Regions from separate parts of the Homo sapiens genome. Here all the other regions are linked to region 3. The links are contacts of gene promoters, found by promoter capture Hi-C in human tissues and cell types (Jung and others, 2019). All regions are on one chromosome and are shown on one strand. Each heading gives the region's core, a stretch centred on a gene start or on the middle of the fragment in contact. The rest is flanking DNA. Distances are from core to core; before and after follow the strand shown. Region 1 has its middle 13 kb from the start of ASCC2. Region 2 holds the start of MTMR3 (myotubularin related protein 3). Region 3 holds the start of CABP7 (calcium binding protein 7).

Region 1 (2,700 bases), core at 181-2,680, 130 kb after region 3:
CCTTGACCATCAAGAAAAGAGGGGAACCCTACTTTCTCTTCTTGCTGGGTATCTACTCTCTGGGCTTGCACAGTCCCCAGAGATTTCAGTATGCAGCTGCTCTGACCTAATTCCTTGAGTACAATGGCCCCTTCACACCTCAGGGCACTAGCCCATGCTGCTTCCTCGGCCTGAAATAACCCCCTGCTCTCCTTGTCAAGGTAAAGCCTCCTCTTCATCTCATTTTTTCCCAGGTTATAATCACTTTCCTGATATACACATTCCTAGTTAGCTCCCTTCACTTCCCTTGTGTGTCACTGGTCACAGCTTATCTTCTTGTATTTATTGTGTGGTCAATCAGTGATTGACTCCTTCATTAGGCTATGTGTTCTGACAAATTAGAGACCTCATCTGTTTTGTTCACCAACCTTATCCCCAGTGCTTAGCTTGGTACCTGGCATCTTACAGTGTGCATTAAATATTTGCTGGCTGATGATTGAATCAAAGTGCTAGGATAATCTAGACCAACTCTTCCAATTCCAAGTAAAAAACCATGGTCCAGAGATGGGCAATGACTTGCCCAGGGTCACAAAGAAGGCATCTAATAGCTCCTTGCTGATTACTGACTTCCTTAAAATACCTTGGCCCTGAGACAGGGCCATTTTGAGGAGAGGCAAAACTGAGAGATTGAGTTGTTTTCCATGCTGTCTTAGTCCGTTTGTGCTGTTAAAACAGAACACTTGAGGCTGAGATATTTACAAAGAACATAAATTTATTTCTAATGGTTCAGGAGGCTGGGAAGTCCAAGATTAAAGCACTAGTAGGTTTGGTTGTCTGGTGAGGCCTTGCTCTCTGCTTCCAAGATGGCGCCATGTTGCTGTATCCTTCAGAGAGAAGGAACAGTGCATCCTTGCATGGCAGAAGGAAGAAGGGCAGGAGGGTTGAACTCCCTCCATCAAATTCTTTTATGAGGCTGGGCCCGGTGGCTCACGCCTGTAATCCCAGCACTTTTGGAGGCCGAGGTGGGTGGATAACCTGAGGTTAGGAGTTCAAGACTAGCCTGGCCAAAATGGTGAAACTCCATCTCTACTAAAAATACAGAAAATTAGCTGGGTGTAGTGGCAGGTGCCTGTAATCCCAGCTCCTTGGGAGGCTGTAGCAGGAGAATTGCTTGAACTCGGGAGACGGAGATTGCAGTGAGCCAAGATTGTGACAACGCACTCCAGCCTGTGCAACAAGAGCAAAAAAAAAAAAAAAAAAAAAATCCTTTCATGAGGGCACCTAATCCTATTCATGAGGGCCGTGCCCTCATGACTCAATCACCTCGTAAAGGCTCCACCTTTTAATACTGTCACATTGGCAACACCTGAATTTTGAAGGGGACACATTCAAACCATAGCACACGTTCTGAACAACTGTAGTTCCTCTTCTTAACAGAAGGCTCCCCATGAGGCACAAATTCTAAACCCAAGTCCATGAAGGGGCTCCCAAGATCTGTGTCCCCCTTGAATTATACACAGTTGTGTTTGGGGAATATTTTTCAGTAGAGAGACTGAGAGGCTTCATCTGATTCTCAAAGAAACATCCTCAAAAGTCTAAGAGCAACTCACGCCAGCACCCTGCTGAACCTCTTCTTCCCTTCTAGCTAGAAAAGCCATCTTAAGGCCCAAGAATCTCTGGTGACAGAAACATGGCTTAGTGTGAGGCTGTGAGGCAGGCAGTGGTCAGGGCAATGGTCAGTGGCTAATACATGGAATCAGAGAGAAATATATTCTCAGCTTCAGTTGGTTAGGGACGTCAGGGAAAGCTTCCAGGAGCAGGTGCCAATCAAGCTGGGCTATAATGGACTGTGAAGGTTCAAGAGGCTAAAAGTGATGTGGGGAGGGAAACACAGTCCAGAATTCCCTTCAGGCAGCCCCAATGTCTTCACCAATGCCCATTCCCAAAAGGGGAGCTTGTTTAAATTGTCCAGTATTTGGTGTCATTTTCGTCCAGAGATCATCTTGGATGTAGAGTTTCTTTTTCCCTTTCCCTTTATTTTATTTTTTATTTTTTTGAGTTGGGTTCCCACTCTCACTCAAGCTGGAGTGTAGTGGTGTGACCATGGCTCACTGCAGCCTTGAACTCCTGGCCTCATGTGATCTTCTTGCCTCAGCCTGCCAAGTAGCTAAGACTACAGGCATCGACTAATTTTTTTTTTTTTTTTTTTTTTTTAGAGATGAGATCTTACTATGTTGCCCAGGCTGGTCTCAAACTCCTGGGCTCAAGTGATCCTCCTGCCTCGGCCTCTCAAAGTGCTGGAATTACATTATAGGTGTGAGTTGCTGCACCCAGCCCCGTCTCCCTTTATTTTTTATTATTTTATTTTCTTTTAATTTTTATTTTATATATATATATTTTTTTTTTTTTTTTGACAGAGTCTGACTCTGTCACCCAGGCTGGGGTGCAATGGCATGATCTCGGCTCACTGCAACCTCTGCCTCCTGGGTTCAAGTGATTCTCCTGCCTCAGCCTCCTGAGTAGCTGGGATTACAGGCATGAGTCACTGCACCCGGCTATTTGGCTATTTATTTGTTTTTAATGGAGATGAAACTTTGCCAAGTTGCCAAGGCTGGTCTCTAATTCCTGAGCTCAAGCAACCTGCCCACATGGGCCTCCAAAAGTGCTGGGATTACAGGTGTGAGCTACTGCGGCTGGCCCATTATTTCATTTTTTTGAGAC
Region 2 (2,715 bases), core at 125-2,624, 160 kb after region 3:
CGCCCGCCACCATGCCCAGCTAACTTTTGTATTTTTAGTAGATCCGGGGTTTCACCAAGTTGGCCAGGCTGGTATCGAACACCTGAGTTCAGGTGATCCACTCACCTTGGCCTCCCAAAGTGCTGGGATTACAGGCGTGAGCCCCCGCGCCCAGCCAGCTGTTAGTTAATCAAGAAATTCGACTGCCTACTACTTAACCTGCACAGTTCTAGGTGCTGGGGAAACAGTGACGAACAAGACAAGATCCTTATCTTCAAGTAGCTTTTACATTTTAGTGGAGTAAAATGACAGTAAACATTGAAAATAAATTTCAGAAAGTGCTGTGGAAAAACTTTACAACAGACGCAGGAATAGATTTCATTTGACTAGTTCTCCCAGTTTCCAGAAAAGTCAAGGGTAGAATGTTAAAAGGCAACTCAGAGGAGGTGAATCTGTTAGGGCCTACGGTAATGCAATCCTGGTTTGTGGAATTCTGCAGGCTAGTGTGGGTAGGTTACAATTTTTTGGGGGAGTTGTTTTTTACTTTGTTTGAAAACTCACTTCTTCCCGCTGAGCTTTTGATTAGGAGCTGAAGTTGAATCAGTTTGAAATTGTATTCTGGACCGGATGCGGTGGTTCATGCCTGTAATCCCAGCGCTTTGGGAGGCCGAGGTGGGTGGATTGCTTCAGCCCAGGAGTTTGAGATCAGCCTGGACAAAATGGCAGAAACCTCATCTCTACAAAAAATACAAAATTTAGCCGGGCATGATGTTGTGAGTCTGTAGTCTCAGCTACTCAGGAGGCTGAGGTGTGAGGATCGCTTGAGCCCGGGAGGCAGAGGTTGCAGTGAGCCGAGATGCCACTGCACTCCAGCCTGGGCGACAGAGCCAGACTCTGTCTCAAAAAAAAAAAAAAAAAAAAAAAAAAGAAAAGAAAAGAAAAGAAATTGTATTCTGAATACAACTTCTAAAACACTATATTTACTTGCATTATATTAAACTGGTTTTATCCTGACCACAATTGCAGGTGGAAGATACCACTATTGTTCTATTTTTCTGGTAAGTAGAGTGAGCCATGTCTTGCCCAGGGTTACAGAGCTTGGAAAAGACGCCTCCTAAAAATCTGTAGGACCACCTTTGGTTTTCTTCCAGATTTTTTTTTGTCATCTCTTTTCCTCCACCCATTTCCCATCTGTCTAGCCATTCTTGCTCCGCTGGGCTTTTTCGCGAGCCTCTCCCCAGCTGCAGCCCCGCCCATCTCCTGGGGCGTGACCACCTGTCCAGGCCCCGCCCCCGTCCAACCGGCGGAGACCCGCCCCCTTTCCCGGACACCGGGCTCAGCGCCCGAGCGTGCGCGCGCGTCCTCGCTCGTCGCCCGGCTCGGCGTCGGGAGCGCGCTCTGTGTGGCCGCTGCCGCCATGTTGTTGTGGTTGTGAGAAGGCGGCGGCGGCGGCGGAGTAGCAGCCGGACGAGACGTCCCAGCGGCTCAGGCGCTGCCCAGCGCCGGCCCTGGCAGGGAGCCTGGTGGGGTGGCGGAGGGGGAGACTGTGCCGTGGAGGGCCTCGCCATGTCCTGCTGCCCGGTAAGAACCCCATCCCCGTCCTCCGTCTCCTCGGCGGGTGAGGAAGAGCTGGAGGAGGGGCCGGCCTCGGCCCCGGCCCTGGCCAGGCGGCTGTCACCCTCTGAGGAGGCAGCGCCCTGGGAGGGCTGGGGACTGCGTGCGGGGCCCGGGGAGGGGCGTCCCCGGCGGCTGTCGCCGCCAGGGGGAGGCGCTGGGTGTGGGAGTGGGAATGGGAGCTCGGCGGCCGAGCTCGGCCCGGACCCTAGATGCGGGGGAGGCGGGGTCCCGGGCTCGGGCTGCCTTCCCAGACCTGGCGGGGATGGGCCCGTGCGGCTCTGGGTGTGGGACGTACCCTCGGAGCGCCCGGAGTTATTCCCACGAACTCCCGGGAGGTGGGTGTGCGCCCTTCGCCCCCTGCCGGGTCTGTGGCGGTCCATCGTTGCCGGATACTGGAGGTCAGGGGCCATGGGAGCCCCGGGGCGAACGGTGCGGGCCTGGGCCTTGTGGAAAGGAGGAGTGACCGCCCGATCGTGCAGCAGGGCATCCCCCTGACCTGGTAGTACTTAGGTGGGTAGGATGATTGGGGGCGGTTGGCGTAACTGAGGGAACCCTGGTCAGACTGCTCCGCAAATGATTACAGTGTTATTTCTCCGGTAGTAATTTTGCTTGATGTATGGCATTTCCGGACCCATAAGATGATACTGTAGGTTGTATTTTGGACTGGAAAACTTATGTCAAAATTATGGGGTAGATTTTTTGGCCACATTAATAGACTCCCCTGGAATTTGATAATCTCACTTGTGAGTTTTGGACATGGACTGCTATTACATATTGATGTTCAAATGTCCTTTCCAGACCCAGGCCTAAATTCTTACTGTTGTAGTATCTTGATTCTGACATCTATTTTTCCACAACCCAAACAAACAAAACAAAACAAAACAAAACCCCAAAACCATATACTTTTCTAGTTAAGGTTCAACTTTCTCATATGTGAATGGTAATGCCATAAGAGGCCTGGGTTGAATTACAGGAGATTATTATTATTTTTTTCAATGTGAAATGTTTGTGATTTGTCCATGGAGAGGTGGTGGGGACCTTCCCCTTTCAGATTCAGGGCTGTTCAGTAGGACAGGAGACATTGATGGCATGCAGAAAGTCTTCCCTTTATAGGGCCTA
Region 3 (2,895 bases), core at 69-2,568:
GGAGCTCCCTCCAGAGCAGGGCCCAGGAAGTGCTGGGCCCAGGCTGACCCAACCCCGCTTGGCTGGGGCTAGCATCTCTCACTGAGCCCCTTCTCCCCAGACCCTGAGACAAGGCTGCGATTAATCAGTAACAAAAACAGAAACAAGCAGAAAAGTGTAATCAGCTTGGGAAGGGCAGGGCAGGACCGGGCAGGGCTGTGCAATCAGCGTTCCTGCTGGGACCTTTAGCTGATTGGGCCAAAGGGGGCAGGGAGGTGGTCCCAGTAGGGGGATTCAGGGAAGCACCCAGAGATGGGGCCACAGCCAGGCCAGAAGGTCACCCCCTCCCATGCACATCTGTGCACCATATGCCCACACCACTCCCAGCCCCAGGGCCTGCACACCTCCCCCGACCTGCCAGCGTACAACCTTGGCACACACAGGTGGCCACACACTCCCGACATTTGTCCATCTGCATATGGAGTCACAGACACCTGCGCACGTGCCCAGTGGCACATACACACCCTCATGGATAGCAGACATATGCACACGCAGGCTGCTCCCTCAAACACCTGCCCCCACCCCAGCTCTGGGGTGCCGACGTGCCCTGGGGCCTGGGGAAGCCCTGCACATACATTAGGTCTGAGCTGCAGCCATGTGAACTGGCAGGCCCTCACACCAGACCCCACAGGCACCGGGCCATGTCTCTGTCCCGAACTGCCCTGGGGGCCATGAGACACTTTGGCTCCTCTTCTGCAAGCTGAAAGGTAGGGGCTTGGGAAGGGTCCGGGACTGGGGCCCCATTGTGGGGAGCAAGGTCAGCGGCAGGGTGTCAGTCACAGGCAGGGCAGGAAGCCTACCCCAGACGTGTACCCAGCTCTTACCTGCTGCTCCTGCCCTGTGACCTTGGTCAACGTCCTTCTCTCTCAGCCTCAGTTTCCCCACCTTGGATCCTCCTGGCACGGAAACGGTGACTCTTCTTGAGGACCCAGGTGCTTGGGGCCAGTCTCACCTCTCTGGGTCTACAGTTCTTAGTTCCGGGCTCTCCGCTCCTGGTGCGTGGATGGGGGAAGGTGAGCCAAGGGGCAGGAAGGAGGACCCCCGCAACCCACCCCCTCCCTGGTCCTGGTGGCTGCAGACTTAGGGTGAGGAGAGCCAGTGAACAGAGGGGAGCCCTAGTGGGAAAGGGGAATCGGGGCCGAAGGGGAGAAGGAGCCCCGGGCAGGTTTGGGGCGGCCGCTCAGGGGCCGGCGGCGGGAAGGGGCGGGCTGGGGGTGGGGAGCGCGGAGGGGGCGGGCGGGCGGCTGGCGGGGGAGGCGGGGAGCGCAGCCAGCGCGGCACAGAACGAGCGAGCGAGCGAGCGGAGAGGCGGCTACAGCCTGAGCGCCGGGCCGGTAGCGGCCGCGCCGGCGAGCGGACTAGCGGGCGGCGAGCAGCGCGGAGCGCGCGGGGCACCGAGGAGCGGGCGCGGCGGGCACCGCGCGAGGCAGCCGGAGCTCTCGGAAAGGCCAGAGCGGCGCCGCCCCCGCTGCCCCTGCGGGGCCCCGGCTGGGAGCCCGACGAGGGAGCGGGCGGCATGGCCCGGCGGCCCGGGGCGCGGGGGCGCTAGGCCCCCGGAGGGGCGTCCCCAGCCTCGCCGCTGCCGCCGCCGCCCTCCGCAGCCGCGCGCCCCGCCCGCTCCAGCCGCCCCCGGGGCCGCCACCGGCCCATGAGCCCCGGCCTCAAAGTTTGCGGCGGGCGGGCGGGCGCGGAGCCTCCAAGATGCCGTTCCACCCGGTGACGGCGGCGTTGATGTACCGGGGCATCTACACCGTGCCCAACCTGCTGTCGGAGCAGCGCCCGGTGGACATCCCGGAGGACGAGCTGGAGGGTGAGTGTCCGCCGGGATCCCCGCCCCGGCGGCCCTCCTACCTGTGCGCCCAGGTGAAGCGCGGGCCAGGGGCGCGGGGGCGGGGGGCGGGGGGCGGTCCGCAGGTGCCGGTTGCCAGGTGGGCGCCCCAGCTAGCAGCTGTGCCCCGCGGCAAGACCTGTCCGCACCCCGGGGCGCCGCGGTGGGGGTCGCTCAGGCGGAGAGCGGCCCAGCCCCTGCCCGCGTGGTCCCCAGCGCTGCGGAAACTTGCCGGGCCCCGCAGCGGGGTCACGGGGCCGCGCAGTCGGCGGTGACGGTGCGGCAACGCGGCGGACTGGGGCGGGGGTCCGCGCTGAGCCCCCAGCGCCGGCCCGGCCGGAGCACCCGCATCCTGATCCCCTCCGCGGCGCCCGCCCGCGGCTCTCTGCTCGCATTGACATTCCGCTCGTGTCGCTTTAAAAATTCAATCTGCTCGGGCAGCAGCAGAAGGGGAGAGGGCGACTGCCCTGCTCTTGCCCGCTGCGGGGCCGCCCCCGTCCCCACCTGCGGCCGTAGCCCCTTCCCTGCAGCCCTGCGGGGACCCCCAGCCCGGCGCGCCGGGAAGGCGGCCCGGGAGGCGGTGGCGACAACAAGTGGCCGGACTGGGCGGCTAAGTCGCGATAGCCAAGCCTGGAAGGGAAAGGCAGAGAGGCCAGGACCCAAACCCGCCCCCACCCCGTTCCCCCTGCCTCTCAGACTCGCAGGGGGATGGCAGGCCGCTGGCTGGGCGAGGTCAGAGCAGAGGGCAGGGGCAGGGGTCCGGGACAGTGTGTCCTGAGGAGCAGTGAGACCCCTGGGGCCCGCCCAGCTCCTTCCCTGCTGGGCTGGGGGAGGTGCTGAGGTTTCCCCTCCCCCCAGACCTCCTGGAGCCCCCATATGGAGTGGAGTGGGGGATCTGGGCTGATGGGGGTCACGGCCTCCTGGGATCTGCATGTCTGCTGTTGCAAGGGGCTGAGCTCACCCAGAGGATGGGCCTCTCGGGGTACCTTGGATCCAGGGGTCTCTGAGATCTGGAGGCTCATTAGGGC

Evidence for each region. Contacts are between HindIII fragments. The study calls those that stand out against the background at their distance.
Region 1: a contact is called between a fragment that was not itself captured here and the fragment with the promoter of CABP7 in region 3, in 3 of the 25 tissues and cell types used here (adrenal gland, mesenchymal stem cells and stomach).
Region 2: the fragment with the promoter of MTMR3 here is called in contact with the fragment with the promoter of CABP7 in region 3 in 2 of the 25 tissues and cell types used here (dorsolateral prefrontal cortex and hippocampus).

Annotation. Positions count from the first base shown.
Region 1 is chr22:29,849,642-29,852,341 of GRCh38, forward strand. No RefSeq gene overlaps it. Among named protein-coding and RNA genes, the nearest start is that of ASCC2, 13 kb to the left of the region's middle. The HindIII fragment of the contact is 4,899 bases long and covers 1-2,700 here.
Region 2 is chr22:29,881,800-29,884,514 of GRCh38, forward strand. MTMR3 (myotubularin related protein 3) reads left to right here and starts at 1,375. Exons shown (of 20, transcript NM_021090.4): 1 at 1,375-1,560. RefSeq lists an enhancer at 1,181-1,475 and silencers at 1,188-1,357, 1,418-1,917. The HindIII fragment of the contact is 9,494 bases long and covers 1-2,715 here.
Region 3 is chr22:29,718,685-29,721,579 of GRCh38, forward strand. It overlaps CABP7 (calcium binding protein 7), which reads left to right and starts at 1,319. Exons shown (of 5, transcript NM_182527.3): 1 at 1,319-1,849. The coding sequence starts at 1,741. CABP7-DT (CABP7 divergent transcript) reads right to left here and starts at 1,219. Exons shown (of 3, transcript NR_186695.1): 1 at 864-1,219. RefSeq lists an enhancer at 2,628-2,895. The HindIII fragment of the contact is 29,567 bases long and covers 1-2,895 here.